4 separate regions of the Homo sapiens genome follow, and regions 2, 3 and 4 are each linked to region 1. The links are contacts of gene promoters, found by promoter capture Hi-C in human tissues and cell types (Jung and others, 2019). All regions are on one chromosome and are shown on one strand. Each heading gives the region's core, a stretch centred on a gene start or on the middle of the fragment in contact. The rest is flanking DNA. Distances are from core to core; before and after follow the strand shown.

The links. Contacts are between HindIII fragments. The study calls those that stand out against the background at their distance.
Region 2: a fragment that was not itself captured here is called in contact with the fragment with the promoter of ABCD4 in region 1 in 1 of the 25 tissues and cell types used here (neural progenitor cells).
Region 3: a fragment that was not itself captured here is called in contact with the fragment with the promoter of ABCD4 in region 1 in 1 of the 25 tissues and cell types used here (liver).
Region 4: a fragment that was not itself captured here is called in contact with the fragment with the promoter of ABCD4 in region 1 in 1 of the 25 tissues and cell types used here (liver).

What each region holds. Positions count from the first base shown.
Region 1 is chr14:74,298,512-74,305,928 of GRCh38, reverse strand. ABCD4 (ATP binding cassette subfamily D member 4) reads left to right here and starts at 2,995. Exons shown (of 19, transcript NM_005050.4): 1 at 2,995-3,054; 2 at 5,661-5,779; 3 at 6,254-6,381. The coding sequence starts at 3,017. It also overlaps a transcript of VRTN not described here and the pseudogene SUB1P2. RefSeq lists an enhancer at 2,547-2,906 and a silencer at 3,167-3,246. The HindIII fragment of the contact is 36,493 bases long and covers 1-5,562 here.
Region 2 is chr14:73,002,146-73,009,562 of GRCh38, reverse strand. The region is part of intron 2 of ZFYVE1 (zinc finger FYVE-type containing 1); the gene reads left to right. Among named protein-coding and RNA genes, the nearest start is that of ZFYVE1, 21 kb to the left of the region's middle. The HindIII fragment of the contact is 3,507 bases long and covers 1,952-5,458 here.
Region 3 is chr14:73,062,077-73,069,493 of GRCh38, reverse strand. The region is part of intron 1 of RBM25 (RNA binding motif protein 25); the gene reads right to left. It also overlaps the pseudogene LOC100422493. Among named protein-coding and RNA genes, the nearest start is that of RBM25-AS1, 6.3 kb to the right of the region's middle. RefSeq lists enhancers at 3,545-4,045, 4,046-4,546. The HindIII fragment of the contact is 8,376 bases long and covers 80-7,417 here.
Region 4 is chr14:75,492,306-75,499,722 of GRCh38, reverse strand. No RefSeq gene overlaps it. Among named protein-coding and RNA genes, the nearest start is that of BATF, 26 kb to the left of the region's middle. RefSeq lists an enhancer at 2,533-2,592. The HindIII fragment of the contact is 3,218 bases long and covers 2,508-5,725 here.

The DNA of each region.
Region 1 (7,417 bases), core at 1,746-4,245:
CTTGGTGGCTCACACTTGTAATCCTAGTACTTTGGGAGGCCAAGGTGGGCAGATCACTTGAGGTCAGGAGTTCAAGACCAGCCTGGCCAACATGGTGAAACCCTGTCTCGACATAAAAGACAGAACTTAGCCAGGCATGGTGGCGAGTGCCTGCAGTCTCAGCTACTCAGGAGGCTGAGGCAGGAGAATTGCTTGAACCTGGGAGGCAGAGGTTGCAGTGAGCCAAGATCGTGCCATTGCGCTCCAGCCTTGGGGGACAAGTCTAAAAAAAAATCCCAAACACTAATGTACCTCATTTTCCTAACCTGAAACATCATGTTATCATCTGTGCTGCTGCTGCTGTTCTCTTTGGAAGATGATAGAGCTCTTCAAGTTTCACCAGTCTTTTGCTTCTTTACAGGTCTTTCTGGAGCAACCTGCTTTTTCCTCTTTAACTTTTTGTCAACATCACTGTCAGAACCGCTGCCAGAAGAGCTTGAAGAAGTAAGTTCCTTTGATTTGGGCATTACTCTGCTCTGCTGCACTCCAGTAGCCTCCCGCTTGCTCACTGGTAACTCTGGTGTATTACTTCTTCTTCTTCTTTTTTTTTTTTTTTTTTGAAACAGTCTCACTCTTGTCACCCAGGCTGGAGTACAATGGCACAATCTCAGTTCAATGCAACCTCCGCCTCCTGGGTTCAAGTAATTCTCCTGCCTCAGCCTCCCAAGTAGCTGGGATTACATGCACCCGCCACCACACCTGGCTAATTTTTGTACTTTTAGTAAAGACGGGATTTTGTCATGTTGGCCAGGCTGGTCTTGAACTCCTGACCTCAGGTGATTTGCCTGCTTCGGCCTCCAAAAGCGCTGGGATTACAGGCGTGAGCCACCGTGCCCAGCCTGCTACTTCTTAAAAGTTTACAGTAATAGACAATGCTGAGGCACCCTGGGACAGTAATGCCACCGAATACCAAACTAGGACATTTTTGAGACTGAAAGGGGACAAGATCTGTAAACCTAGATTACCCTAGAGAGGTGACGTTGCTTGCTTTAATACTTTGGTTGCCTTATTAATTTTTCAAAAATTGCATCCTATTTTTTTGGTTTTCAAAATAAGAAAGACATACTTGAATAAAGTTATTTCCTCTTCAAAGTCTTTCTAGATTCCACTTTTCCCCATGCTGAGTTAAATGCCTTTCTCTTTGGTTCTGGGGCAGTGGTTCTCAATGCTAGGGGGTGGGGTAAAGCTGGAATTTTGGTCCTTTCTCCCCTAAGGGACATTTGGCAATGTTTAGAGACATTTTGGGATGCCTAGGTCAGAAGGAATGCCACCGGCATCTAGTGCGTAGAGGCCTGGGATACAGCTAAACATCCTACATTGCATAGGAAAGCCTACACAGCAAAGAATGATCAGGCCCCAAAACTTAATGGCGCCAAAGTTGAGAACCCCTGCTGTATGGTATGTTTGTCATAGCACTTCATAAAGACAGCTGTAGGCCGGGCACGGTGATTCACACCTGTAATCCCAGCATTTTGAGAGGCCAAGGTGGGTGGATCACCTGAGGTCGGGAGTTCGAGACCAGCCTGACCAACATGGAGAAACCACGTCTCTACTAAAAATACAAAATTAGCCGGGTATAGTGGTGCATGCCTGTAATCCCAGCTACTCGGGAGGCTGAGGCAGGAGAATCGCTTGAACCCGGGAGGCACAGGTTGCAGTGAGCCAAGATAGCACCATTGCACTCCAGCCTGAGCCACAAGAGCGAAACTCCGTCTAAAACAAAAACAAAAACAAAAAAAGGCCAGGAGCGGTGGCTCACTCTTGTAATCCCAACACTTTGGAAAGCCAAGGCGGGCAGATCACCTGAGGTTAGGAGTTCAAGACCAGCCTGACCAATATGGAGAAACCCTGTCTCTACTAAAAATACTAAATTAGCTGGGCGTGGTGGCACATGCCTGTAATCCTAGCTACTCGGGAGGCTGAGGCAGGAGGATGGCTTCAATCCGGGAGGCTGAGGTTGCCGTGAGCCGATATCGCGCCATTGCACTCTAGCCGGGGCAACAAAAGCAACACTCCGTATCAAAAAAAAAAAAAAAAAAAAAAAAATCTGTAATTGTCAACTGATTGACCTACCCAGCTAGACTGCAACTTTCATAAAGACAAGTGATACATGCATGTTGTAGAGTGTTTGGCTTGCAGTTGAAACTTAATAAGGATTGGAGGAAAGTGAGAAGACACATCCAGATTCAAATTTAGGGACCTGTGGGATCATGCTGTTTGGGTTTTTTTTGAGCCATTTCCCACCTCCCTTTGGGTACTAATCAGTCAACTGATAAGCATTTCATTCATTCAACTATCTATCTTATCTATCGATCATTATCATCTATTTATTTGTTTTTGAGACAGGGTCTCTCTTTGTCGCCCAGGCTGGAGTGCAGTGGCACAGTCACGGCTCACTGCAGCCTTGACCTTCCGGGCCCAAGTGATTCTCCTGCCTCAGCCTCCAGAGTAGCTCGGACCACAGGCGCTCGCCACCATCCCCGGCTAATGCTTTTGTCTTTTGTAAAGGCGGGGTCTTGCCATGTTGCCCAGGCTGGTCTTGAATTCCTGGGCTCAAGCGATCCTCCCGCCTTGGCCTTCCAAAGTGCTGGGATTACAGGAGTAACCCACCGGGCCCGGCTGGAAGCCTAATTTATACTTTTTTAAAGATCATGCTGGCTTCTCTGGGAGAATATGTAAAACATCTATTATACACAGAATCTAAAATACTTGCCATAAAGTAGTTACACTCTCGGATACCTATTGTCAAAAGGGAAGTCTCCCAGAAAATATGGGGGCGCTGTAGCCGCCGGGTCAGCCGAGTCCACTCTCTGGTACTTTTAGAGACGTCGGTCGCTTCCGGGAGAGTCCGCGTCTCCCGCACCTTCCTCTCTATCAAACGCCGTCTCTGTGGTAGCCGGGGCCCCGCCCCTCCTCGGACTCTACCCAGTACTGAACTAGGGGCAGCTGGGCTCCAGAGTCCCTCGGGTCTCAGGTCATGGCGGTCGCGGGGCCCGCGCCCGGAGCTGGCGCCAGGTAAGCAGGGCGGTCGGGGAGGAGGTTTGGGAGCAGGAGTTCCGGGCTGTAGGGAATGGGCTTTCCTGCCCTCCGTGCCTCGTCCGCCGCCCTGGCGCCCCCGTCTCGCCCCCGTGACTTCTGAGAGAAAGAGGAGCTCTCGAAGGGGCGTCCGCCCTCCCGCCGCTCTAGGCCGCTCCGCACCGGCCGCGGCCCCCTCCGTTCTTGGCCGGACTTGTGCCATCTCCTGCGGTGTGGGACCCTCACCCTCGCAACTGGCATTCTTTTTTTGAAAAGAAGAACCTCAGGTGCACAAAATTGAGTTGATCCTTCTCAGTTCTTGACACCCTGTGGGCCAATGCAAGGCTCCTTGTTTATTTTATCACTTCCTCTCTTCGTTCCTATTCCCAGACCCCTTTCACTCCCCTTTTCAGACAGCCACTCTGGTGTGTTATATAAGTGGCTTTACGGTCCACCTTGGGTAAATTTGTGCAAGTGTTACTTTGAAATCTATATAGCGGTTTCGAATTCTTCAATATAATATGCTGTGATTTTTCTTTAAACCTTTTTCCTCAACATTGTGTTTTTGAGTCCATCCATGCTAGTCATCTTGTTTTCACTTCTGAGTGCTTGCATGAGGGGTGCTGTGTGCATAGACTTATTCCCCTAGTGGTGGATAGATTTTTTTCTAGTATTAACACCCCCACAAGCCACACTGTAACGAATATTCTGGCAGTTGTCTCCTTGTGCATATTGTTGCATTTCTCTGGGTATCCACCCCAGAGTTGGGTCCTGGTCATATCTAATTTTGCTGGATTGTTCTTTGGAATGGTCACACTAGTTTATACTTCCCGACGGGCAGTGCATAAAGCTTCCTGTTTCCCGGTATCCCTCCATCGTTCAGTGGCGGCTGGTTTTGTAATGTTTATCAGTCTGGGGGGTGTAAGGTGGTATCCCATCGTGTACATTTTCTTTCTTTCTTTCTTTCTTTCTTTTGAGACGGAGTTTTGCTCTTGTTGCTCGGGCAGGAATGCAGTGGCATGATCTCGGCTCACTGCAACCTCCGCCTCGGGTTCAAGCGATTCTTCTGCCTCAGCCTCCTGAGTAGCTGGGATTACAGACGCGCGCCACCACACCCAGCTAATTTTTTGTATTTTTAGCAAAGATGGGGGGGTTGGCCAGTCTGGTCTTGAACTCCTGACCTCAGGTGATCCACCCGCCTCGGCCTCCCGAAGTGCAGGGATTACACTTCCCGACGGGCAGTGCATAAAGGAATTACAGACGTGAGCCACTGCTCCCGGCCTACATTTTCATGTGTTTATTAAACGTGGGTTTTCCCTTTTTTGAATTGCCTGTTTATATCCCTTCCCACTTCTCTGTGGATTTCCTATGTTCCTGGCTTGCAGGAATTCTTGTAGGCTCTAGATTTAGATCCTGGCCATGCCCGGTGGCTCACACCTGTCATCCTATCACTTTGGGAGGCTGAGGTAGGTGGACCACTGGAGTCCAGGAGTTCAAGATCAGCCTGGGCAACATGGTGAAACCCCATCTCTACCAAAAATACAAAAATTAGCTGAGCGTGTTGACGCACGCCCGTACTCCCAGCCACTAAAAAGGCTGAGGTGGGACAGTCGCTTGAACCCGGGAGGCAGAGGTTGCCCTGAGCTGAGATCGCACCACTGCATTCCAGCCTGGGCAACAGAGCAAGACCTTGTCTCAAAAAAAAAAAAAAAAAGATTTTAGGCCAGGCGCGGTGGCTCACGCCTGTAATCCCAGCACTTTGGGAGGCCGAGGCAGGTGGATCACCGGAGGTCAGGAGTTCGAGACCAGCCTGACCAATATGATGAAACCCCGTCTCCTACTAAAAATACAAAAATTAGCCGGGCGTGGTGGCATGCACCTGTAATTGCAGCTTGTCAGGAGGCTGACACAGGAGAATCACTTGAACCAGGGAGGCGGAGGTTGCAGTGATCCGAGATTGCGCCGTTGCATTCCAGCCTGGGCAACGAGCAAAACTCCGTCTCAAAAAAATAAAGATTTCAAGTCCTTGTTGGTTTTGCACTCTGCAGATACCACCTCCAAGTCTTCTAACTTAATCTATGGCACTGTGTTGAATAAAAACATTTAACTCTAATGAAGTTAAATTCATCAGTTTTCCCCTGTATAGGTTTTTAAGGTATCTTCATTAAGACATTTTTCTACATTTCCTTCTATTAACATGATAGTGTTACTTTTCACGTTTAGATTTTTAATCCATTTGTAATTTTTTAAGTTTTTTGTTTTTGGTTTTTTTTTTTTTTTTGAGACGGAGTTTTGCTCTTGTTGCCCAGGCTCTTGTTGCAATGGCGCAATCTCAGCTCACTGCAACCTCTGCCTCCCAGGTCCAAGCAATTCTCCTGACTCAGCCTCCCGAGTAGCTGGGATTACAGGCATGAGCCACCACGCTTGGCCAAAGAATTTCCTTTGTATCCGTGGTCTGTTCCCAGCCTACCATCTTCAGCATTTGAAAACCATTCTTTCTGCATGGCCTGGACCCTCTACAGAACAATGTGGATGAGCTTAATAACTACTCCCTAAGGCTTAATTATTGTCTTGGGCTTTTCTCTGCCTCCCCACCTTCTCTTCAGGCCCAGGTTAGATCTGCAATTTCTCCAGCGGTTCCTGCAGATACTGAAGGTTTTGTTTCCTTCTTGGTCATCACAAAATGCCTTGATGTTCCTGACCCTTTTGTGCCTGACCCTACTGGGTGAGTGAGTGAGCCCAGACTAGAGGAGGGAGGGGAGCTCTGGTTTGGGGTCCCTTTCCATCTTTTTTTTTTTTTTTTTTTTTTTTGAGACAGAGTTTCTCTCTTGTTGCCCAGGCTGGAGTGCAGTGACATAATCTCAGCTCACTGCAACCTCTGCCTCCCTGGTTCAAGTGATTCTCCTGCCTTCGCCTCCTGAGTAGCTGGGATTACAAGCACCCACCACCACGCCCGACTAAACTTTGTATTTTTCAGTAAAGACAGGGTTTCACCATCTTGGCCAGGCTGATCTCGAACTCATGACCTCAGGTGATACACCCGCCTCAGCCTCCCAAAGTGCTGGGATTACAGGCGTGAGCCACCGCGCCCGGCCCCTTTTCATCTCTTTGGGGTGCTGATGAGGCAGGGACTCAGGAAGAAGCCTCCCTTCTTTTTAACCCCTCATCACTGATTTCTTACTCCTCTCCCTCCTTTCAGAGCAATTTGTGATCTACCAGGTTGGCTTGATCCCCAGTCAGTACTATGGGGTCCTGGGAAACAAAGACTTGGAAGGGTTTAAGACTCTGACATTCCTGGCTGTCATGCTCATTGTTCTGAACTCCACGGTAAGATCTTTCCCTCTCTCTGTGTCTCTCGTCCTCTCCAGTCCAGTGTGACCGTAATGCCTAGTGGAACTTAGCCTCCAGGAAGCAGGAAGCAAGCTGTGGGGGTGTGTTTCCTCCCTTTTCTGGGAACTAAAGGGATAGTTGCCTTTATTAAGCACGTTGATCTTGCTATTGGCCCACGTGGGACTGATTCCTCAGATGTTTCCACTCCTGGGCCCAGGCCACAGGTTCTGGTTTAATTCAGCATTTAGCAGAACTGATCATTGCCCCTTTCCTTCCTAGAACTCTTATTTCCGGCAGCTCATTAAAACGGCTCAGCAGCCAGAGCTGCTGCTCCTCCTCTGCGGGACCGAGGCTGTGACTCACCCTGGCACCATGTCACACCTCCCAGCCTTTGAACAGTGCTTTCTTGCAGAATGGCCTCCTCCCCTACCCCTCATTCAGTAGGGGGGCTACCACCTGCTCACTCTTCGTCATCCCTCCGTTGTCACCTCTTTCAAGTCTTTCTCAGCTTTCTCCTTTGTGTCTCCTCCACCAAACTCTGCCCTTTTTCTGTACTTAACGAATTCCTTGAGTTTACCTCGCTGTAACACTCCTCACACGCTTGTAATTGTTTTCTGGCTAAACTGTGAGCTCATAATGTCCCTAGTGCTTAGCACATAGGTGCCCTGGAAATGGTAAATGATGAGACTCAGGGCTGTACCAGAACTCAAGCCTAATGCTGTCTGCCAGGCTGTGCCACCTGTTTTCTTGGGGAAGCCACTGCTCATCGTACCATGGCCACTTTTGTTGGGTCTTCGGTCAGTAAGCACCTATGCATACAAATCTCTGTCCCAAGCTTGGGGGACAAAGGAGTAAGAACATAAATGGAATCGACAATATGGTCTCCAATCTTCAGAAGCTCATCTACTCTCAAAATAAGACAGTGTAGAAAGAGGGTCTTGCCTCTGGTAAGCCCTTTAATATTTGGTGAAGGAGGCTGGGTACAGTGGCTCACGCCTGTAATCCCAGCACTTTGAGAGGCCGAGGCGGGCGG
Region 2 (7,417 bases), core at 2,456-4,955, 1.3 Mb after region 1:
GGCTGGTCTCGAACTCCTGACCTTGTGATCCTCCCGCCTCGGCCTCCCATAGTGCTGAGATTACAGGCGTGAGCCTCCGCGCCCAGCCTCCCTAAGGAGAGCTTTTACTTGGGATAATGAAATTTCCAGCTGATGGTGATGACTCTGGCTTGGGGCAAAGCAGCAATGATGTCAGTCAGCATGCCTCTAGCATTTACTACAAGTTATTCTGGGCCTCCACTGTGCTAAGTGCCTGATGTACATCATCTTATTTAATTTTTGCAGAAATCCTATGAAGTAGATTGTGTTGTTATCTTCATTTTAGAGGTGAATAACAGAGCCCCAGAGGGGTTGAATAAAGTTATCCTAAAGTCAGTGGATGATAGAGTGAGGTTGGTTGAACCTTTAATGGTGATACTATACCATTCCCTCCCCCAGAGGATATAGCGTCTAGACATTTTGTGCTGTGTTCATTCATTTATTGATCAATTGTGTCTTGATTTCCTATTTTGCGTCAGGCACTGTGCTAAGGTTACGGTAGTGAACAACACAGACCATATCTCTGCCAGCCTGGAGTACATTCTAGTTGGGGTGTTTAGCGCTGGAAGAGTGGGAAAATGTTAACAGAGGTGGTGGGTGGGAATGGAGGCTTTGAGCAAGAGAAGGGTTGAGTCAGTTGCCCAGGGTATGATTTAAACCTAACTCTCTTTTCTAGCCTGGTTTGTGTAGCTTAGCTTTTACTGTTAAGTCCTTTCTTAGCCCTCAGAATCATTCCAGAATGAAAGACCATTCTGCTTACTGACAGGCCTTTACTGGAGCTTACATCTGTTTTCACAGCTGGCCAAATATGGATATGCTATGCCACTTAAAAAGGCAGCTGCATCTCCCATCCAGAAGCTCCTCAGAAAGTTCCCTTGAGGATGAGGTGGGGCTTGGGGATGACTCGGTATTTCCAGTGTGTCCTCAGAATTCATCTTTGCCTTGGAAAGCTTTTTATTCAGATATAAATGGATTGCTGAACTGGGTGTGTTGGATGTGGTCAAAGAAACTGATCAGGGAGCTAAAAATGACTTTTTTTAAAAAAAGAATTTTTGTGGACCATCTCTGCATAGAAACACTTTTATTAGGCCAGGCATGGTGGCTTACGCCTGTAATCCCAGCACTTTGGGAGGCTGAGACGGACGGATCACTGAGGTCAGGAGTTCGAGACCAGCCTGACCAACATGGAGAAACCCCGTCTCTACTAAAAATACAAAATTAGCTGGGTGTGGTGGCACATGCCTGTAATCCCAGCTACTTAGGAAGCTGAGGCAGGAGAATCACTTGCACCCGGGAGGCAGAGGTTGCGGTGAGCCGAGATCGTGCCATTGCACTCCAGCCTGGGCAACAAGAGTGAAACTCCGTCTCACACACAAAAAAATAAAAAAAGAAACACTTTTATTTCTGCTAGGATAGGAGAGGAGCTGCAGGCAGTCTCTGTGAAGCATAGTGTCAGAAGCACCACTGGTAGTTATAAGACATGGAGAGGAATTCCTGACCTCTCAAGTAATGGAACACTTTGGGGACACTAGAGTGGAAGAAAGTGATCTTTGCCCCTGCCAAATGTGCTCAGTGTGTTTGTGAGACCAACCCCGTGACTTCAGTGTCTTCAGAAAACATTTGATTGAGAAATGATTGTGTTTTTATGTGAAACTCTAGCAACATGTACGTGGATAGACATGAGGTATACATACCCTTTAGGATAGAATGAAAAGAAATTTTCTAAACTTGCTGTGTTGAGGAAACAGATTTAATAGAACTTAAACCTTGCTATTGGAAGAAATCTAATCATTTGGACTTTAAAATAGACTGGTTACTGATCTGTTTGACATAGTTTAGGTAAAATCCTGTTTGAAATTTAGGCCATGGGGTTGGGCTCAGTGGCTCACACCTATAATCCCAAGTGCTTTGGGAGGCCAAGGAAGGAGTATTGCCTGAGGCCAGGAGTTCAAGACCAGCCTGGGCAACATAGAGAGACCCTGTCTCTACAAAAAATAAGTTTAGCCAGCTATGGTGGTGCACGCCAGTAGTCCTCCTAGCTACCTAGGAGGCTGAGGCAGGAGATTGATTGAGCCTGAGAGGTGGAGGCTGCAGTGAATCACTGTATTCCAACCTGGGCAACAGAGCAAGACCTGTCTTTAGAAAAAAAAAATTGGAGTAATGTATGATTGTAGTTGGTACAGATTAAATCTGTTTTTCCCAGGGGCCAGTACTGAAAAGACCTTGGTGCCAAACTACTTTTCTTAAGAGTGTTTTCCAGGTTTGTTGGGGTTTAACTTCTAGAATCTCTGACTGTGCTGTGTTGAACTTCCTTCCTTCCAAGGCTCTTTAGTTCCTTCCTCACCTCTTGGTTTCCCTTTTCAGGCCTCCTTGGAACAGAGCCGGTACATGGTCTTTCATTCTAGAATGATTCTGTGAGGGCTTGGAAGGAATCTCTCGAGGGAGAACATCATCATTCCCTTGGCCTGCTTGGGTCGCAGGTTGATGCTGGACACTTTTCACTACCATGAACTATTCTGAATTCTAAATTGGGGCTGGGCGCAGTGGCTTATCCCTGTAATCCCAGCACTTTGAGAGGCTAAGGCAGGCAGATCACCTGAGATCAGGGAGTTCGAGACCAGCTGGACAACATAAACCCTGTCTCTACTAAAAATACAAAAAATTACCTAGGTATGGTGGCACGTGTCTGTAGTCCCAGCTACTCAGGAGGCTGAGGCAGGATAATCGCTTGAACCAGGGAAGCAGAGGTTGCAGTAACCCAAGATTGCGGCACTGCACTCCAGCCTGGGCGACAGAGTTAGACTCTGTCTCAAAAAAAAAAAAAAAAAAAAAAAAGGAACTGGGGTGGGGGATCATTGAGTACAGTTATATTTCATTTTACAGACTCTTCTTGGGAGTCTATACAAAGTAAAAAGCTTTGGGTGAATTGGAGGGAGAGAGGGAGGTGCTGCTGGGTTTTGTAAAGGTTTTTAGACAGAGTCTTACTCTGTTGGCCAGGCTGGAGAGCAGTGGTGCAATCTCGGCTCACTGCAACCTACACCTCCTGGGTTCAAGTGATTCTCCCGCCTTAGCCTCCCGAGTAGCTGGGATTACAGGCATGTGCCACCACACCCAGCTAATTTTTATATTTTTAGTGGAGATGGGGTTTCACCACGTTGGCCAGGCTGGTCTCGAACTCCCTGCTTCAAGTGATCAACCTTCCTAGGCCTCCCAAAGTGCTGGGATTACAGGCGTGAGCCACCACGCCCAGCCTCGTAAAGATTAGTACAATATTAGATAGTTACTAAGAGCCAGCTCTAAAGCCAGTATGAATAATAATGTGTTTTGGCCGGGCGCGGTGGCTCACGCCTACAATCCCAGGACTTTGGGAGGCCCAGGCGGGCGGATCACGAGGTCAGGAGATTGAGACCATCCTGGCTAACACGGTGAAACCCCGTCTCCACTAAAAATACAAAAAATTCTCCGGGCGTGGTGGCGGGCCTGTAGTCCCAGCTACTCCAAAGGCTGAGGCAGGAGAATGGCCTGAACCGGGGAGGCGGAACTTGCAGTGAGCTGAGATCGTGCCACTGCACTCCAGCCTGGGCGACAGAGTGAGACTCCGTCTCATAAAAAAAAAAAAAATGTGTTTTGATTAGCAGGAGGTGGTTATCTGATGCAAGCAGTGAGCTCTTTCATTTTAGGTAGAATTCATTTAGATCTTACTACATTGCTGAATCAGCCCCCAAATGAGCAATTCACAGGTGCAAGCCCAGCTGCTGCTGCTGTGCACCTGGGTGTTTTCCCAGTGGACTGGTCTTTAATAATGGTTCACGTATCGAGTGCTTACTCCATGCCAGGCACTGTGCTATGCCTTTTACATACTTTATCTCTTTTAGTCCGCTGAGTGTCGCTAGGAGCTGGACATCTGTTATTATCTCATTTCCCTGAGGTGTTGAGTAGTTAAGTAACTTTCCCAAGGCCACACCATGGTTTCAAAGCCTGTAGTGGCATTCAGGTGTTTTGGACTCGCCTGAGGCCTAGCAAGCTTGGGGAAGATGGAAGGCAAAAGTTGGGGAGGGGTGGCTTTGGTATCCCTCCTGCGTTTGCTGTTGGTAAGGCCAGTGACCATTTCAAACATGTTGTCAACTTGGATGGGGTGGCCAGTTGGCCGAGCTCAGGGCCAGGTAACCTATTTAACTCCAGGATTGGAGCACCATGGGGTCACTGAGTGTAGACAAGCCGAACAAGTAGAGCTGGAGCTTCGTTCCTTCCTGGGCCCTTCCTTCCCTCATCAAAGGGAATCTTCTTATTTTTCTCTGCCTTTCCCTCCCTGACTGAAAACCGGTCTTGCTACCACCTAGGCTAGGCTGTTCTCTCCTTTCTGGCTTAGGGAAAAATACTCATGTGTTAAGGATGAATTTAGTAGTATATCAGGAAGCAAAGTAACATGAAAGGCAGAGAACTGTGCCAGAGAAGTGTGGTTTCAGTGTGCCAGCATTTTCCTGCGTATCTGTTTATTTGGTTAATTAGCACCTGCAAAGATGGTTATAGCCTCCTTTTTTTTTTTTTTTTGAGACGGGGTCTCACTGTCACCCAGGCTGGAGTACAGTGGCGTGATCTCGGCTCACTGCAAACTCTCCCCAGGCTCAAGCAATTCTCCCACCTCAGCCTCCTGAGTAGTTGAGATTACAGGGACGTGCCGCAACGCCTGGCCAATTTTTTGTATTTTTAGTAGAGATAGGGTTTTGCTAGGTTGCCAAGGCTGGTCTCAAACCCCTGGGCTCAAGTGATCCATCTGCTTTGGCCTCCCACAGTGCTGGGATTACAGGTGTGAGCCACTGCACCTGGCCTAGCCTCCTTTCACATGACGAAAATGCAGTCGGTGCACGTTAAGGGATTGTTCACTGCTTGTCAGTAGAAAAAACAGCCTGGAGCTTTGAGTTCCTCCTCCCAGGAGTATTATTTGCACTGGACTCATCTATAGGCCCAACACATGGACATCCACATTGGACATACCCCCGAATACCAAATGGCTAAGTGGTATCACCAAATGCAGGCAAGGAGTGTTTTCTTTCCATCCCATATGAGTTATATATATATATATAGTACATCATTTGGTGGACACTTAATATGAATCCCGAGACATTCAATTCTGTACCTAAATGTTCCCCCGTCCCCACTTTCAGGTGCCTGCTCTTAGATACTCAGGATAGCAGTGGCTGTTTTGTTTGTAAAGAGTCGCGACAGAGTAGATTTCCATGGGGAGAAAATCCCTAGGCCTGGTCTTCCATACCAGGCCTGGTGGAGCAGGTGGATGGCTCTTCCAGCAGCCACCCTGAGCTCACCTGACTCCGTGCCGGTAGAGCTTTACGGAGCTTTTGTTTTGTTTCTCTTGCTGGCCGACTTAGCAGCTTGGAACCAGGCTGGCTGAGTGACACGGGTCCAAAATGGGCTATTCTGTGTAACTTCTTGTTTCTCTCCGTTGTCTGCTAGATCGGTTAGCCCATCACCAAGTTTATGAAATGCTGCTGTGTGTTCAGCCCTGTGGAAGATGTATGATGGGAGAAGCGTTTAAGGTACCTGGGTACCTAACAAGGTGCCTGGCGTTTATTCACTCACTCATTCACTCAGCAGCTGTACACTGAGCTCCTCCTGTGTGCCAGGCGGTGTCCTGAGTGCTCTGCATGTAAAGATAAGGTAGACACGGCCCTGCCCTCATGGCTGTAGTGAAGGGCACTGTCACTGCAGCCGGCATTCAGTGAACTGTTAGTATTATCAGGAATATTCAGGCTCTTAATAATGAAACAATAGTGATGTCATTAATATAATAATGAGTGGTTTACTTTTTTTTTTTTCCAGTTAGAGTCTTGCTCTGTTGCCCAGGCTGGAGTGCAGTGGCACGATCTCGGCCCACTGCAACCTCCACCTCTTGGGCTCAAGTGATTCTCCTGTCCCAGCCTCCTGAGTAGCTAGGACTATAGGCGTGAACCACTACGCCCAGCTAATTTTTTGATTTTGTAGAGTTGGGGTCTTGCTATGTTGCTTAAGGTAGTCTTGAATTCCAGGGCTCAAGCGATCCTCCCGTCTTGGCCTCCCAAAGCACGGGGATTTGGTTTACTATCTTGATGAGATTATAGGAAACAAAGGTTTATCATATTTTCACACTGAGTGGTCTGTATATTTCTCTGTTATCAAACCAGCAGACTCTTGAGAATCAGCAAGGTGTTCACCTCTATAGTCCCAGCACTTTGGGAGGTGGAGAGGCAGATCACCTGAAGTCAGGAGTTTGAGACCAGCCTGGCAAACATGGCGAAATCCCATCTCTACTAAAAGTACAAAAAAAATTAGCTGGGTGTGGTGACATGTGCCTGTAGTACCAGCTACTCTGGAGGCTGAGGCAGGAGAATGGCTTGAATCCAGAAGGCGGAGGTTGCAGTGAGCTGAGATTGTGCCCCTGGACTCCAGCCTGGGTGACAGAGTGAGATCCTGTCTCAAAAAAAAAAAAAAAAAAGAAAAGAAAAAAAGGGCTGGGCACGGTGGTCACACCTGTAATCCCAGTGCTTTGGGAGGCCGAGGCGGGCGGATCACGAGGTCAGGAGATTGAGACCATCCTGGCTAACACGCTGAAACCCCATCTCTACTAAAAAATACAAAAAATTAGCCGGGCGTGGTGGCGGGCGCCTGTAGTCCCAGCTACTCTGGAGGCTGAGGCAGGAGAATGGCGTGAACCTGGGAGGTGGAGCTTGCAGTGAGCTGAGATTGCGCCACTGCACTCCAGCCTGGGCGACAGAGCTAGACTCTGTCTCAGAAAAAAAAAAAAAAAAGAAAAAGCAACGTGTTTTATTCTCTGTTGGCTGGAAGATACTTGATGTGAAGCTTCCTCACTCCTTTGGCTGCAGTAGCCATAAGCTCTTTGAATCAGGAGCTTTGACCCTGGGCTACTAAAAATACAAAAATTAGCTGGGCATGACAGCGCATGCCTGTAATCCCAGCTACTCGGGAGTTTGAGGCGGGAGAATCACTTAAACCCAGGAGGTGGAGGTTGCAGTGAGCCAAGATCATGCCACTGCACTCCAGCCTGGGCAACAGGCAAAAACTCCGTCTCAAAAAAAACAAAACCAAAACCAAAAACTGTATTGAGATGTAATTCACATACCATAATATTCACCAGTTTAAAGTATATAATTCAGTATTTTTAGTATGTTCATAAAGTTGTACAGTCCTTACCACTATCTAATTCTGGAATATTTTCATCTTTCCAAATAGAAACCCAGCTTTAGCAGTCTCTCCCTCCTCCCTCCTTCCTCTAGCAACCACTAATCTACTTGCTGTCTATGAATCTGCCTGCTCTGGACGTTTCATATAAATGGAGTCGTACACTATGTGGTCTTTTGATTGTGGCTCCTTTCACTTACCATGT
Region 3 (7,417 bases), core at 3,018-5,517, 1.2 Mb after region 1:
CAGCCTGGACAACAAGAGCAAAATTCCATCTCAAAAAACAAACAAAAATATTTGTCTCTACTATTTTGTCTTTCATGTTTTACAGAAACATAAAAAGAGAAAACATAAAAAGTTTAAGTCTTCCACTTCCTTGCCCCCAATCCCAACAGTTTGGTATCTACTGCTGTGCTCTTCTTAATATCATTCTATGAACTAATAATTTTTATTTTTCTACAACCAATCACATCATGTGAATTTCTCCCTCGTTATAATTGCCATCTCTTCATGTCAGTTCACAAAAGTTTTATTCCAAGCCGGGATGGTGGCTCACGTCTGCAATCCCAACACTTTGGGAGGCCAAAGCAGGGGGCTCACGTGAGGTCAAGAGTTCTAGACCAGCCTGGCCAACATGGTGAAACCCCATCTCTACTAAAAATACATAAATCAGCCAAGTGTGGTAGCACATGTCTGTAATCCCAGCTACTCGGGAGGCTGAGGCAAGAGAATCACTTGAACCCAGGGTGCGGAGTTTGCACTGAGCTGAGATCGTGCCACTACACTCCAGCCTGGGTGACAGAGTCTGTCTAAAAAAATAAAAAATAAAAATAAAGTCTTATTCCACCTTTATAATGCAGTAAATTGGCTGGGCGTGGTGGCTCACGCTCATAATCCCAGCACTTTGGGAGGCCGAGGTGGGTGGATCACAAGGTCAAGAGATTGAGACCATCCTGGCCAGCATGGTGAAACCCCATCTCTACTAAAAATACAAAAATTAGGAGAGGGGGTGGCTGCAGTAATGAGAGGCTGGTGCTGCAGCTCTTTTCCTGCAGTCCAGCCAAGGAAGCGTGCGTCCCTGGCGCTTCCTTCTCTTTGGACAGAGAGCTTGGGATGTGGTAATGCCAGCCAGACTTCTCAGAGCCATGGTCAGATCTACCGTACACTGGCAAAAGCACATCAGTGCCAAAGAATTGGTCATCTAATGTTAAAACCACTAAAGGAATTTGAAAATACAACATGCGGCACACTGACAATACGTCAAAACTTGGATTTGTTCCTTCCTGATAATACAGCTGGTAGTCTGAATAAGTCTCAGATCCTGTAAATGAACCAAAAAAAAAAAAAAAAAATCAAATACAAGCATTGTCTCTCCATTAAATGCTGCTCACTGCCAAGACGAAAAGGCACACCTTCCAACCATGAAATCCTTTGGTACTCACAAGAGAGTGACCCACAAACCAAATCTATTGGGGTCTAAATGGTTTATAAAAATATTAAAGAGGCATTTCTCATCTGTATCAATGGAAACATTTGTTCCAAAACAAGGCTTTCCACATATCAAGAGACCACTAAAGCATCCAGGACCAAGCAGCCATCTAGGACCAACCTTCCAGTTCTGTCTGTGAACGAGGTAAAGTTGGGGTGGTCGTAGCTCATGTGCTTAGTGATCACTGCTCACGCTAAACCAGTGTGCGCTGCACCCCAGCCTTACCGCCAACTTAAGAAACTGGCAGTCAACTCAGACTGCTCCATCAAGATCTTTGAAGCCTAATAAATATCCAAAGAGATTCAAAATCTTAATTTTTAAGAATTAATGATACATATAAAAACAAAATACAGGCCGGGCGCGGTGGCTCACACCTGTAATCCCAGCACTTTGGGAGGCCGAAGCGGGTGGATCACGAGGTCAGGACATCGAGACCACGGTGAAACCCCGTCTCTACTAAAAATACAAAAAAAAAAAAAATTAGCTGGGTGCGGTGGCAGGCGCCTGTAGTCCCAGCTACTAGGGAGGCTGAGGCAGGAGAATGGCGTGAACCTGGGAGGCGGAGCTTGCAGTGAGCCAAGATCGCGCCACTGCACTCCAGCCTGGGCAACAGAGCGAGACTCTGTTTCAAAAAAAAAAAAAAAAATACAGGCAATAAAACATGAAAAAAATACAAAAATTATCCAGGCGTGGTGGCACATGCCTGTAGTCCCAGCTCTTGGGAGGCTAAGGCAGGAGAATTGCTTGAACCCGGGAGGTGGAGGCTGCAGTGACCCGAGATCAAGCCACTGCACTCCAGCCTGGTGACAGAGCAAGACTGCCTCAAAAATAATAAAATAATAATAATGCAGTAAATTATTATAATACGGACATATTTATTTAACCAACATTAACAGTTGGCTCCACTTTCAGCTCTCACAAATAATGTTGAACATTCCTGGAGATAATAGACATATAACTGTATGCATCTGTACAGGTAATTCTCTAATACAGGTTAGAACTATATGTATCTGATTAGCTGGGTGTGATGGCAGGTGCCTGTAGTCCCAGCTACTCAGGAGGCTGAGGCAGGAGAATCGCTTGAACCTGGGAGGCGGAGGTTGCAGTGAGCCGAGACGGTGCCATTGCACGTCAGCCTGGGCGACAGAGCAAGAATCCACATCAAAAAAAAAAAAAAAAAAAATTATATGTATCCAAACTTTACCTCCAAAATCATCCCTGAAAACTAGCATATAAATGTATATTCCCACCACCAGAATATGGGTATGCCCTTTCCTCATATCCTCATCATTGGTAGAATAGATCAGTGTCAAAATTCTCACAATTTCATAAGTAAAATATACTCTTATTTCAATTTACATTTCCCTCATGACTAATGAGGTTGAGTATGCGTTTACCTGTTTACTAGACATTTCTTTAAAACAGAAAAGCATGACCTACATGCTCACAGCTCTACTTCCTCAGAATTCCTTTGACTTAAATTGGGATAATACCATATTCAATAAAACTAAACTTCAATTTCAGAAAACACAGTATACTTAAAATATTTAGAAAACTTTATAGGTAAAGGAATCCCTAGGATGCATTTTTTTTTTTTTTTTTTTGAGATGGAGTCTTGCTCTGTCACCCAGGAGTGCAGAGGCACCATCTCAGCTCACTGAAACCTCCGCCTGTCGGGTTCAAGCGATTCTCCTGCCTCAGCCTCCCAAGTAGCTAGGATTACAGGTGCACACCACAAGGCACGCACGACCAAGCTCAGCTAATTTTTGTATTTTTAGTAGAGACGGGGTTTCACCATGTATGGCCAGGCTGGTCTCAAACTCCTGGCCTCAAGTGATCCGTCGGCCTCGGCCTCCCAAAGTGCTGGGATTACAGGTATAAGCCACTGCGCCCAGCCCTTAGGAGGATTTAATATACTTGGCAAATGAGGTATTAGAAATGTTTTAAACAGTAGGTAGGTTATCAGTACATATTAACAATGAAAAACACAAGATTGCAAGACTGTAAATGTGTTGAGTTTTAAAATAAACTTTCTGTAAAACTTTTTGACCAAAACCAAAAACTGGGGGTGGTATCTCTTTTTAAAACAGAAAGGGCTACTGTCCTACTTACAGAAGCTCTTCTATTATCATTATAATAGCCTATCTCAGTGCTTTCTTAGGATAGTTGGTTTTCATACCTGTTGAATAAACTGATTAATGAATAAATCAGTAAACAAACTCTGAGGACTTCAATAAACAAATTTATTATGCTATCTCATGCCGCATACTATATTCTAGCAATGGCCCAGTGCCTAGCCTCACAATGGTTACAAGACTGGGCCATGAACTCATTTTTAAAACCACTTTTCCCCCAATAATATTAGATATAAATAATGCTTAAAAACTAAAACTCTCGGTCAGGGGCGGTGGCTCACACCTGTAATCCCAGCACTTTGGGAGGCCAAGGCGGGCAGATCACTGGAGGTCAGGAGTTCGAGACCAGCCTGGCCAAAATGGTGAAACCCCTGTCTCCACTAAAAATATAAACACTGGGCTGGGTGAGGTGGCTCATGCCTGTAATCCCAGCACTTTGGGAGGCCAAGGCAGGCAGATCACAAGGTCAGGAGATCAAGACCATCCTGGCCAACACGGCGAAACCCCGTATCTAATACAAAAAGTTATCCAGGCATGGTAGTGTGCGCCTGTAGTCCCAGCTACTCAGGAGGCTGAGGCAGGGGAATTGCTTGAACCTGGGTGGCAGGGGTTGCAGTGAGCCAAGACTGCGCCACTGCACTCCACCTTGGCGACAGAGCAAGACTCAGTTTCAAAAAAAAAAAAAATTAGCTGGGCACAGTGGCTCACCCCTGTAATCCCAGCACTTTGGGAGGCCGAGGCAGACCGATCACTTGAGGTCAGGAGTTGGAGACCAGCCCGGCCAACATGGTGAAACCCCGTCTCTACTAAAATACAAAAACTAGCTGGGTGTGGTGGCGGGTGCCTGTAATCCCAGCTACTCAAGAGGCAAAGGCAGGAGATCACTTGAACTCGGGAGGCCGAGGTTGCAGTGAGCCGAGATCGCGCCACTGCACTCTAGCCTGGGTGACACAGTGAGACTCTGTCTCAAAAGAAAACAAACAAACAAACAAACAAAATTAGCCAGGTGTGGTGGTGCGCACCTGTAATCCCAGCTACTCTGGAAGGTGAGGCAGGAGAATTGCTTGAACCTGGGAGGCAGATGTTGCAGTGAGCCGAGGTCGCGCCACTGCACTCCAACCTGAACGACAGAGTAAGACTCCGTCTAAAAAAAAAAAAAAAGTAAAACTCTATATTCTTGGTATTTAAGTTATATTTTATGGTTTTTAAATGTGTAATTCATTCTGCAGAGTTAACCAGATATATTTAATTTTCGTTTATGCCAATATACCCATTCCATTCACTTCAAATTTTTCCATAACATATTCCCCTTTATTTGGAGCTGCCAAAACTTGCTTGTTGATAGGCTGGACTTCAAAGGTGAAGGCAAAAATACCAGTTAACAGCTAATTTTTATGGATATTCCTTTAAGATAACTGGCCTCTCCTGGGCGCGGTGGCTCACATCTGTAATCCCAGCACTTTGGGAGGCTGAGGCGGGCGGATCACAAGGTCAGGAGTTCGAGGCCAGACTGGCCAACATGGTGAAAGCCCGTCTCTATTAAAAATACAAAAATTAGCCAGGAATGGTGGTAGGCGCCCGTAGTCCCAGCTACTCGGGAGACTGAGGCAGGAGAATTGCTTAAACCTGGGAGGCAGAGGTTGCAGTGAGCTGGGACCGCGCCACTGCACTCCAACCTGGGTGACAGAGCGAGACTCCATTTCAAAACAAAAATAAAAAAGATTGGTCTCTCATGGAAAATCAGAAAACATTTCTCATCTTTGATAAATACTAATGTCCACTTTAAGCAGCCTAAAAGATTACCAACTACTTATTTCAACACAGGTTTATGTGTTTTGCCATGTGAAACTGATTGAGAATTAACTTTCATAATCATAAGCAAAGCTTATCTGTTACCTATAGATGATAAACAAAATAAATTATAATACATTGAAAGATGGTATGTACTTTGTAGAAAAATAAATTAGGGAAGAGAGCTATGGAGTAGTTTATTTTAAATACAGCGATTAGGCCTCACCAAGAAGGTGAAGATTAGAACAAAGATTTAAAAGAGGCAGAGGCAGGAAGCCCTATTCATATCTGGGGGAAAGAGACTTCCAAGCAAAGGAAAAGACAAATACAAAGAGGCTGAAGCAGGAATGGTGTATTTGAGGGAGGAATAGCAAGGCCAACAGTATGACTGGAGCAGAATAAATGAAGAAAATCAGAAATAAATACTGAGTATTATGAGTAGAGTGTAGGGCTATGTAACACAATGTAAATAAACATTTTAGTTTTAACTCTGAATGAGGTGAAAATCATTTGAAGAGTTTCTGACTTGTCACATTTTAACAGTATCACTGGCCACTGTGTTAAGCCTGGAAGGGAACAGGATACAAGCAAGAGACTGGTACAATAATCCATATAAGAGATGGTAGCCTGGAGAGATGGTGGCCTGGAACAGGTGGTAGTGGTGAAAGTGCTATCAAGTTGTTGGATCCTGGATATATTTTGAAGGCAGCCAATAGGATTTGCTGAGGGATTGTATAATATGTGGGATTTAAAAGAGAGAAATGCAGAGTTATCTTATGGCACTGAAATCATTTCCATAGCATTTTTTAAAATATTGAAAGTACCTCACATTTTAGAAGGTTCAAAGCACCTTTTCCTGCTAAGTATGAAACTCCGGGCCGGGCGCGGTGGCTCAAGCCTGTAATCCCAGCACTTTGGGAGGCCGAGGTGGGTGGATCACGAAGTCAGGAGATCGAGACCATCCTGGCTAACACAGTGAAATCTCGTCTCTACTAAAAATACAAAAATTTAGCCGGGCATAGTGGCAGGCGCCTGTAGTCCCAGCTACTCGGGAGGCTGAGGCAGGAGAATGGCGTGAACCCGGGAGGCGGAGCTTGCAGTGAGCAGAGATTGTGCCACTGCACTCCAGCCTGGGCGACAGAGCCAGACTCCATCTCAAAAAAAAGAAACTCTATAGCCCACGATAATAAAAACAGGAACCTGGGCCAGGTGCAGTGGCTCATACCTGTAATCCCGGCGTTTTGGGAGGCCAAGGCATGCAGATCACTTGAGCTCAGGAGTTCAAGACCAGCCTGGGCGACATGGTGAAACCCCATCTCTACCAAAAATACAAAAAATTAGCCAGGTGTGGTAGCATGCACCTGTGGTCCCAGATACTCAGGAGGCTGAGATGGGAGAATCGCTTGAGCCCGGGAGGTGGAGGTTGCAATGAGCCGAGCTCACACCACTGCACTCAAGCCTGGGCGACAGAGTGAGGCCCCCCAAAAATTAAATAAAATAACAGAAACCTATGATAGAAGGGTTCCCTACCTCTAGTGTAGCGGTGGTCACACAAGTATATGCATTTGTCTAAACTCATTGAAATTAAAACAGATGCATTTTATTGTATGCAAATTTTATCTCAAGAAATCTGGTCCAAAAAGAAACCCTGAAGACATATCTCTAGTACTCAACATATGCATGCACTCAGCTTTTCTTTTTTCACTTTTTTCTCTTTGAATCTTTCAAACTATTTTTTTCTGCACTCTTAAGAATACTGCAAGTATGCAAAATACAGCAAAACACTGCTAATAAGCATTCCTCTATTGTAGACTTATCCAGATAGAAACAAAATTATTTCTCCCAGGATAGATTATTTTAGACTAGCTCCATCAGTACACTACGTGCCAAATTTCTGAAATGATAATGAACTGAGATTCCTCTGAGCAAATATTCACATACAACTCACTCATTCATTCAATATCTACTTCCAATTATGTGTCAGGTCTGCAGGAATTATTCCTAGAAAAAAAAAAGTGTTTTATGCCCAAAGAAGAATGGGAAATGCTTAACAGAAAAACTACTTTTACAGCAAAGCTTTTCAGAAGTATGAAAATACTCAATTGTTTGGAAATCTCCAAAAAAGAGTTGATCTTTTTCTGACATTGCCACTTTTGTTGTTTTACCATTTTCAATGATTAAAGAGCAACACTCCTGTGCCTGCCTATAGTCACAGCTACGCAGGAGGATCACTTGAGCCCTGGAGTTC
Region 4 (7,417 bases), core at 2,867-5,366, 1.2 Mb before region 1:
GTGAAGAGCTCAGCCCCAAGGGCAAAATAAGGTCCCAGTGCTTCCAACAGTCCCTACTCTCAAGCCAGAGACAAAGAGAACAACGTCAGAGTCAATTCTCTAACTACCTTAATGACACTGAGAGCTGAGCCCTGAGCCCCGGGAAAGTTCCTGTGATGTGGTTGGAAAACTCCGTATCCCCTACTCAGCATGATGTCTCCGCCATTTGCTGGCCTGGATGTCCTGGACCCAGACAAAGCTCGACCATTTTCTGCTGTGTATGGTGTTCAGGACAGATGGTCCAGGCAGAAAGTTCAGCTCACTCTACCCAAAAATTTCACAGCAAGACCGCAGCTACGTGAATTCTACATTTTCTGTTGACAGCCCTGAAACCATAAAGTCCAGGTTCCAGTTGACTTAAAAAAAAAAAAAGAAAAGCACACGGTCATGGTGGTGTGCACATCCAGAAATTCAGACTGCGGGTCACCAGGCCCAGGGGCTTCTAGATGTTTAGTCTAAGGCAACAGAGTCTGGGCCTGCTACTGAGGTTTCTTGCTCTGAATCACCCAGCACAGAGGCAACCAGCAGTGGCTTTGACAACCCAAGCCACAGTTACACATCTCGCTGATTCTGAGGAAAGGGATGGTCCTCAAACTCTCTGGGGGCTCCCAACCTCATTTATAGAGCAGTTCTCTTGTATGTACAGTGGGTTGTAGAGCCTATTTCAGAATTTCTATGTCTACTTATTTTTATCCAAAAGTAATAAGAAAGAAATTAAGCTATGATCATATTTAATAATTAGTATAAGAGCAAACATCTATTTTGTAAATAAATATTTGTATACTGTCTTGTAAGCAATTATACATATGGTTTGTTTTTTTTTTTGAGATGGAGTCTCACTCTGTTGTCCAGGCTGGAGTGCAGCAGTGCCATCTCGGCTTACTGCAACCTCTGCCTCCTGGGTACAAGCGATTCTCCTGCCTCAGCTTCCCGAGTAGCTGGGATTACCGATGCGCACCACCATGCCCAGCTAATTTTTGTATTTTTAGTAGAGATGGGGTTTCACTATGTTGGCCAGGCTGGTCTTGAACTCCTGACCTCAAGTGATCTGCCTGCCTCAGCCTCCCAAAGTGCTGGGATAACAGGTGTGAGCCACTGCAGCCAGCCCTGTATTTATATTATATACAGACATGTACAAATATTTTTGCATGCTAAAAAATTTAACAGGGGGTGGGGTGGGCTAAGGCAGTGTGTCCCAGGCCATGGGTCCCTGTGCAAAATAATTTCTAATGAAATTTATAAATTAAAAAAATTCTTTTAATTTAACAGATGGAATGGATAATCCAGGAGGATTGGAGATGGCAGCTCTGCAGGACAAAGCCCCCACTCCCTCATGTGGTCCCTCTTCTTTCTGGTAAGCTTTCCAGCCAGAAGCTGGAGACGTTCCACTCTTCGCTGCTCTGGCCACTGGTCCAGGACCCCCACCATTGTCTTTCTCAGCTCTGCTCGTCTACTCTTTTTTTTTTTTTTTTTTTTTTTTTTTGAGGTGGAGTCTCGCTCTGTCACCGAGGCTGGAGTGCAGTGGCGCGAACTTGGCTCACTGCAAGCTCCACCTCCCGGGTTCACTCTATTCTCCTGCCTCAGCCTCCTGAGTAGCTGGGACTACAGGCACCTGCTACCACGCCCGGCTAATTTTTTGTGTTTTTAGTATAGACGGGGTTTCACTGTGTTAACCAGGATGGTCTCGATCTCCCAACCTCGTGGTCCGCCCACCTCGGCCTCCCAAAGTACTCTTCTATTCTTGCTGCTTCCTCTGGGTTTTCTCCTACCCCTTTGGCCTAGCCAACTCCTAGTTGTTCCTTAGGCCTGCACTCAGTTGCCATCCCCAGTGGGAAACGTTCTCTGATGCACCAGGATGGAGGTTCTTGGGAGCCCTTCACTGCCTGTGCATTCCCTTAGCATGGCGTTTTCATCTCATTGCCGCGCTATCCACAGGTCCATCTCACTCACTAGCTGTAGATAAGATCATCTTAGTCCCTCTGCTCCTCAGTACCCATTACAATGCCTGCAGGTGAAGTTACCAAGGAGGCCTCTTCTCTTCCATTCATGGTGCCAGGAAGACCACTGATTAAAACCCGTTGCAGAAAAGAAGGAGCATCTTCTCCAGACTCCCATTCCTTCCAGAGCATAGGTCAAATTGTGACTGCCAGGCCAAGAGTCTCTCTTCAAGAAAGAGAAGAAAGTTCCCCTTCAACAACACTCCCCCTACACCCCCTCAGGACTGTGGTTCCTCCAGCACGAAGTCTAACCAAGGACTTCCCCTGGTGGCTCTGTCAGAGCCCAGGCTGAGCGAGCTCCTTCTGCAGAAACTCGATAACATCAGAATATGGTGAGGTTCCAGGCAGCAGACCGTCCTTCTGCTGTGACTGGAAAAGAGGCCTTCAAAAGAGCTGAAGGCCTCCTCTGGGCAGGGACCTCCAGAGGCCCAGGGTGGCTGGCTTCTCAGGGTTTCTCATCACTGCAGCTCCCCTGCTTCTGCTCATCTCCCTCCATTTCCGCACAGGCCTTCCCCACGTGTCTGAGGATGGACACCCCCCAGCTCCTCGAGCCAATATTGCCTCAGTCCAAGCCATCAGAGGAGTCTGAGAAGCCCCTCAAAGTCAAAATTCCAAACTGGGAGAGGGACTCTCATGAGTCTACTTTGAGTCAAGAGTCTACTCCTGGGCCCCTCAGTCACTCATTGGGGGTCTTACAAACATGGCTGCCAGAGCCCACTCTTACAGAGGGCGCTGGACAGCTCCCACAGACAGGGGCTGAGGGGACTGTAGTTGAGAGCACGCTCTCAAAAGTGTCATCTGTAGGAAGTAAAGAAGGAAGCAGAAAAATAGAAGCTGAGTTTCTATTCAGGGCCCGATGCTTTGGCAAATGTCTTAAAAATAAGGAGTTTCACTCCCTGGAGAAGAGGGTTAGGGTTTTGTGTCCACCTCATGCCAGGAACTCTGCAATAGGGCAGAAGGTGGGAGACCTACTTACCTTGAAGGAGCTAACAATCCCTTGGGAATGTCACAAAGGAAACTAAAGTGGCATTAGAAAGCCTGGCCCCTCCTTCGAGCCCACCCACACCCCATCCCTCAAGGCCTAGATCACGTTCCTCCTCCTCCTCCTCTGTGAAGCCTTTTCTCACCACTCCAGCTTTGGTGTTGAGAGGGACATGATGTGGTGTGGCAGAGAGAACCAGGGACTGAGAATCCATCACTAGGGACCTGGTTCTGGCTTTGCCACTAACTAGCTGTGTGACCCTGAAGATGCCGTTGGTCCAGCCTCAGTGGCCTCATCTGTAGGCTGAGGATGCTTGATCTACTCTAGGGAAGCCTTTAGGGAGGCTTAAAACTTTAAGAGTCTATGAAAAATGTTATCTCCAACTCCTTAGAACTTCTTCAGAATGAAAAGTCGGGGCAACATGATTCCTTTCCTAATTTCCAATGGTCTTATCGTGGTTCAAAGTGAAAATGCAACACGGCAGATTGGTTAGGAGCATGGGCTCTCAAAAGGTGACTTATCCATGCTCTGCAGTATCTTCTCATTGGCAGAATGTTCTAGAGTGGACTGTCTGGCTGCTTCCTGTGGTATTATAAGCTTTGCAAAAGCAGAAGACCTCCCACCTCCCGTGGTTTTGCACATTTGGAAGCTTGCCAGCTCTGGACAACCCAAATGACATCTATGTTTTCCTACCTACATTTGGGATCTTGACCGGCATTCTGGAACAAATTCTACCACTCCGGAAAATTTAAGCTTTCAGCTTCTTTTGCTGTTACCCATATGGTTGCCAAACTTGAAATTATGGTGTTGGCTAAATTCCCATCAATAATATCAGGTGACCCCTAGGGTTGTTGTGGGACTGGAAGTCGGCCAATTTCTATTACCTTAATGTATGAAGAGAAATGAACAGAGGTCCTAAGTGTTTTCAAATAGCTTGATAATTTATAGAAGAAGAAAAGAGAAAGAAGAAGAGGTAGAGGAAGAGGAGGAAGAGGGAGGGGAAAAAAGAAAAAGGAGAAGGGGAAAAGGGTGAGGGGAGGAGGTAATGAGGAAGAAAATGGCACTGAAATTTGACACAAAGAAAATAAACTAATTTTGAAACTCTCGGAACTACAACCTCACGCAGTTGGGTCTTTGTATAAGGATGATGTTGCTACTTTCTGTAGACAAAATCTCAAGGTGTCAAATGTCAAATGTCAGCAGTTGGAAGGACCTTGAAACTCAGAAACTCTATGAAAGGATATCCTTTCACATTGAGATTTTAGCTATCTCTTATGTTCATCTACGCAGAGACTTCATTTAAAATTCTGTTAAATGAAATCAACAGTTTTATGATACTTCCCTCCTCCAAAAAGGATGGGGGAAGCTAGAATCAGACGACTGAATTGAATCACAGCTCCACCCCTTGCAAACCATGTGCCTTTAGGCAAATTATTTAATCTTTCCGCATCTTAATTTTCTCACCTGAAAAATGAAGATATTACCAGTATATGTATCATGGAGCTGTTTGGAGGATTCCATGAATTTACAGCTTGGGTGCACTTGGTTAATGGCAGCCTCTGCCATCATTAATATGGCCATATCCTGTGATTCAGAATGTGACTCAGAGGCAAAGAGGTCTCACATCATGTGACAAGTCTTTGGGGCAAATGTCCGGTGACATCGCCAATTTCCTTCCCAAAGCCAAGAATCACTTAGCTCCATGACCGCCATGTTCACAGACTTCATTTCACTGGCCAGAGAATGGAAGCTCAGCAAAACCACACATGCCCCGGTGGCCCATGCTCCAGCTCAGCCTTTTAGCTATGCAGAGATGCACCACTTAATATTCCCCAACACCACCCCTTCTCTGCAGCATGGTAGAGGAAGGGTCCAGCACTTTGATTCACCTGTGCGAACATCTAAAGGTCGCTTCTCCCATGACACACAATGAGAGGACAACTGAGCTGAGATTCCCAGGGACCCTTTGGGCATCATGGGGATGGGAAGATGGGGTGTTGGAATCTCCCCATCTTTCAAGAAAGGTGACATCAGCATGGCCTGCTACCATGCACTCAGGCCAGAAAAGGTCTCAGCTGACCATCCTGGCTAACACGGTGAAACCCCGTCTCTACTAAAAATACAAAAAATTAGCCAGGCATGGTGGCGGGCACCTGTAGTCTCAGCTACTTGGGAGGCTGAAGCAGGAGAATGGCGTGAACCCGGGAGATGGAGCTTGCGGTGAGCCGAGATCACGCTACTGCACTCCAGCCTGGGGGACAGAGTGAGACTTTGTCTCAAAAAAAAAAAAAAAAAAAGAAAGAAAGAAAAGAAAAGAAAAGGTCTCAGCTATAATGAGACCACCTTGCCCCATCCCCACCCCCAAAATGACCACATGGACAGGGGCTGGCTCCCCTAGTTGTGGAATAATAGGGCACATGTACATCTGCTGATGCAAACCTTTAATGGATAATCATATAAGATATTTCACTATAACCAGGCTTCTTTTAAAGTTAGTACAATAGTTCCAACTTTCTTTATCACAATAATATAAAGAGTTGAAAAATTCTAATCATTCATTGAGCACCTATTATATGCCAGGCCCCATGCCAAGTGCTTTACAATCAGAATCTCATTTGAGGCTCACTCCACTGTGTGAGGCGGGTATTATGAGGGTCTCATCTTACAGATGAGGAAACTGAAACTCGCCCAATATCACACCACGTTAGGAAAGAAAAAAAAAGTTAATACCATAAGTGTAGTTGATTTATGATTCAACTATGAAGACTGGGATGGAAGGAAGCCCAGAAAAATGGAAACAGTTCATCTGATGGGGTGATAAGATTATCGGGGATGTTTTTCCCCTTGGTAAATATTTCTGTTGTTTTTGTACATTGATGCATTATACTACAGGGTAGAGAAGTTGGTTTCAAGCAGGGCTTTGCAGCCTCAGAGTGACATAGCGGAAAGTCTATGAGAAGCGGGGGGTCACGGACTGTCAACCTGGTGATAAATGTCCTAGGAGAAGACAAGCACCCTCCCCAGTCCCCCTCCCCACTCTCCATCCCCGCCTCCTCCCAGCCCACCTCCCAGCACACTCCCAGGCTCTTAGTGAATTGCTGGGTGTGCAGGGAGAGTTTGGGGGAAACCCCTTCTCCAGCTCAGGTTGACTTTGTAAAACTCACACAAATTTGCTCCTTTGGAACCTAGAGTGTTTTTTTTTTCCTTCTTCTTCTTCTCTTTTATGAATCAGCACAGAATTGGCCTGTGTGGGGGCCAGAGAAGTTTCTAGAATATAAATCTCGCTGAGGCCTGGTGCACCTCAGCCTACAGATACCTCCGTCCTCCCTCAGATTCCCTGCCTCATTAGGGGCACAGGCCAGGCTTACTTCAGCCCAGGCCCCAAGCTGCACCTTACCCTCCCTTTCTCCAGGGGCGCGAGCCCAGAGACAAGACTCCCACTCTCCCATTCCAAAGTCAATCTGTAGGGTCCCTGTAATCAACATGCATAAAGAGGGGAGAGGTCCCTGGGAGAAACGGTGGCTCCCCTCCCCTAAACTCAGCTACCCCCAGAACATGATGAGATGACACATGCCCTAGACTCCTCTCCACAAAGAGCCCCAAGTCAGGTGCCCCCACAGGTGCCATCCCTCTTTCCTCCCTCTCCCCGCAGGCTTAGCGACCCTCCCCACCGCCAAGCTGCTAATGAGAGCAGCAGACTGATTCACTTGTCCTCCTTCAAGTCCACCTGATGTAATATGTTGCCCCTCTGAGGGCATTTTCAGATCATCTGGGTCCCATGATCTTATTTCATAGATGAGTCAATGGAGGCTCAGAGCCATGAAGTGACTTGCCAAGATCGCCAGCCAGGAGGTGCCAGGCTGGGATTTCTTGCCCTACCACCATGCTGTACCATCCCCTTGTCTTGTTAAATGAGGTTTCTCATACACAGTATGTAAGGACTATGGTTTTGTTCATGAACACTACCTTCATCTTTCTTTCTTTCTTTTTTTTTGAGACAGAGTCTCACTCTGTCACCCAAGCTGAAGTGCAGTGGTGCAATCACAGCTCACTGCAGCCTCAAGTTCCCGGGCTCAAGTGATTCTCCTGCCTCCGTCTCCAGAGTAACTGGGACCACAAGTTTGCACCACCACGCCTTGCTAATTTTTATTTTTATTTTTTGATAGAGATGGGGAGGGGGCGAGTCTTGCTGTGTTGTCTGGGCTGGTCTCAAACTCCAGGCCTCAAGCAATCCTCCCACCTCAGTGACCCAAAATGCTGGGATTACAGGTGTCAGCCACTGTGCCTGGCCAACCGTCATCTTAATATCAGGCTGTGGAGAGGGAGCTGTAGTCAGGGAAAAGGAGCGATAGATGAGCTTGAGGGGTTGGGTCTGAAGAGGTGCTTGGAACCCCAAAAA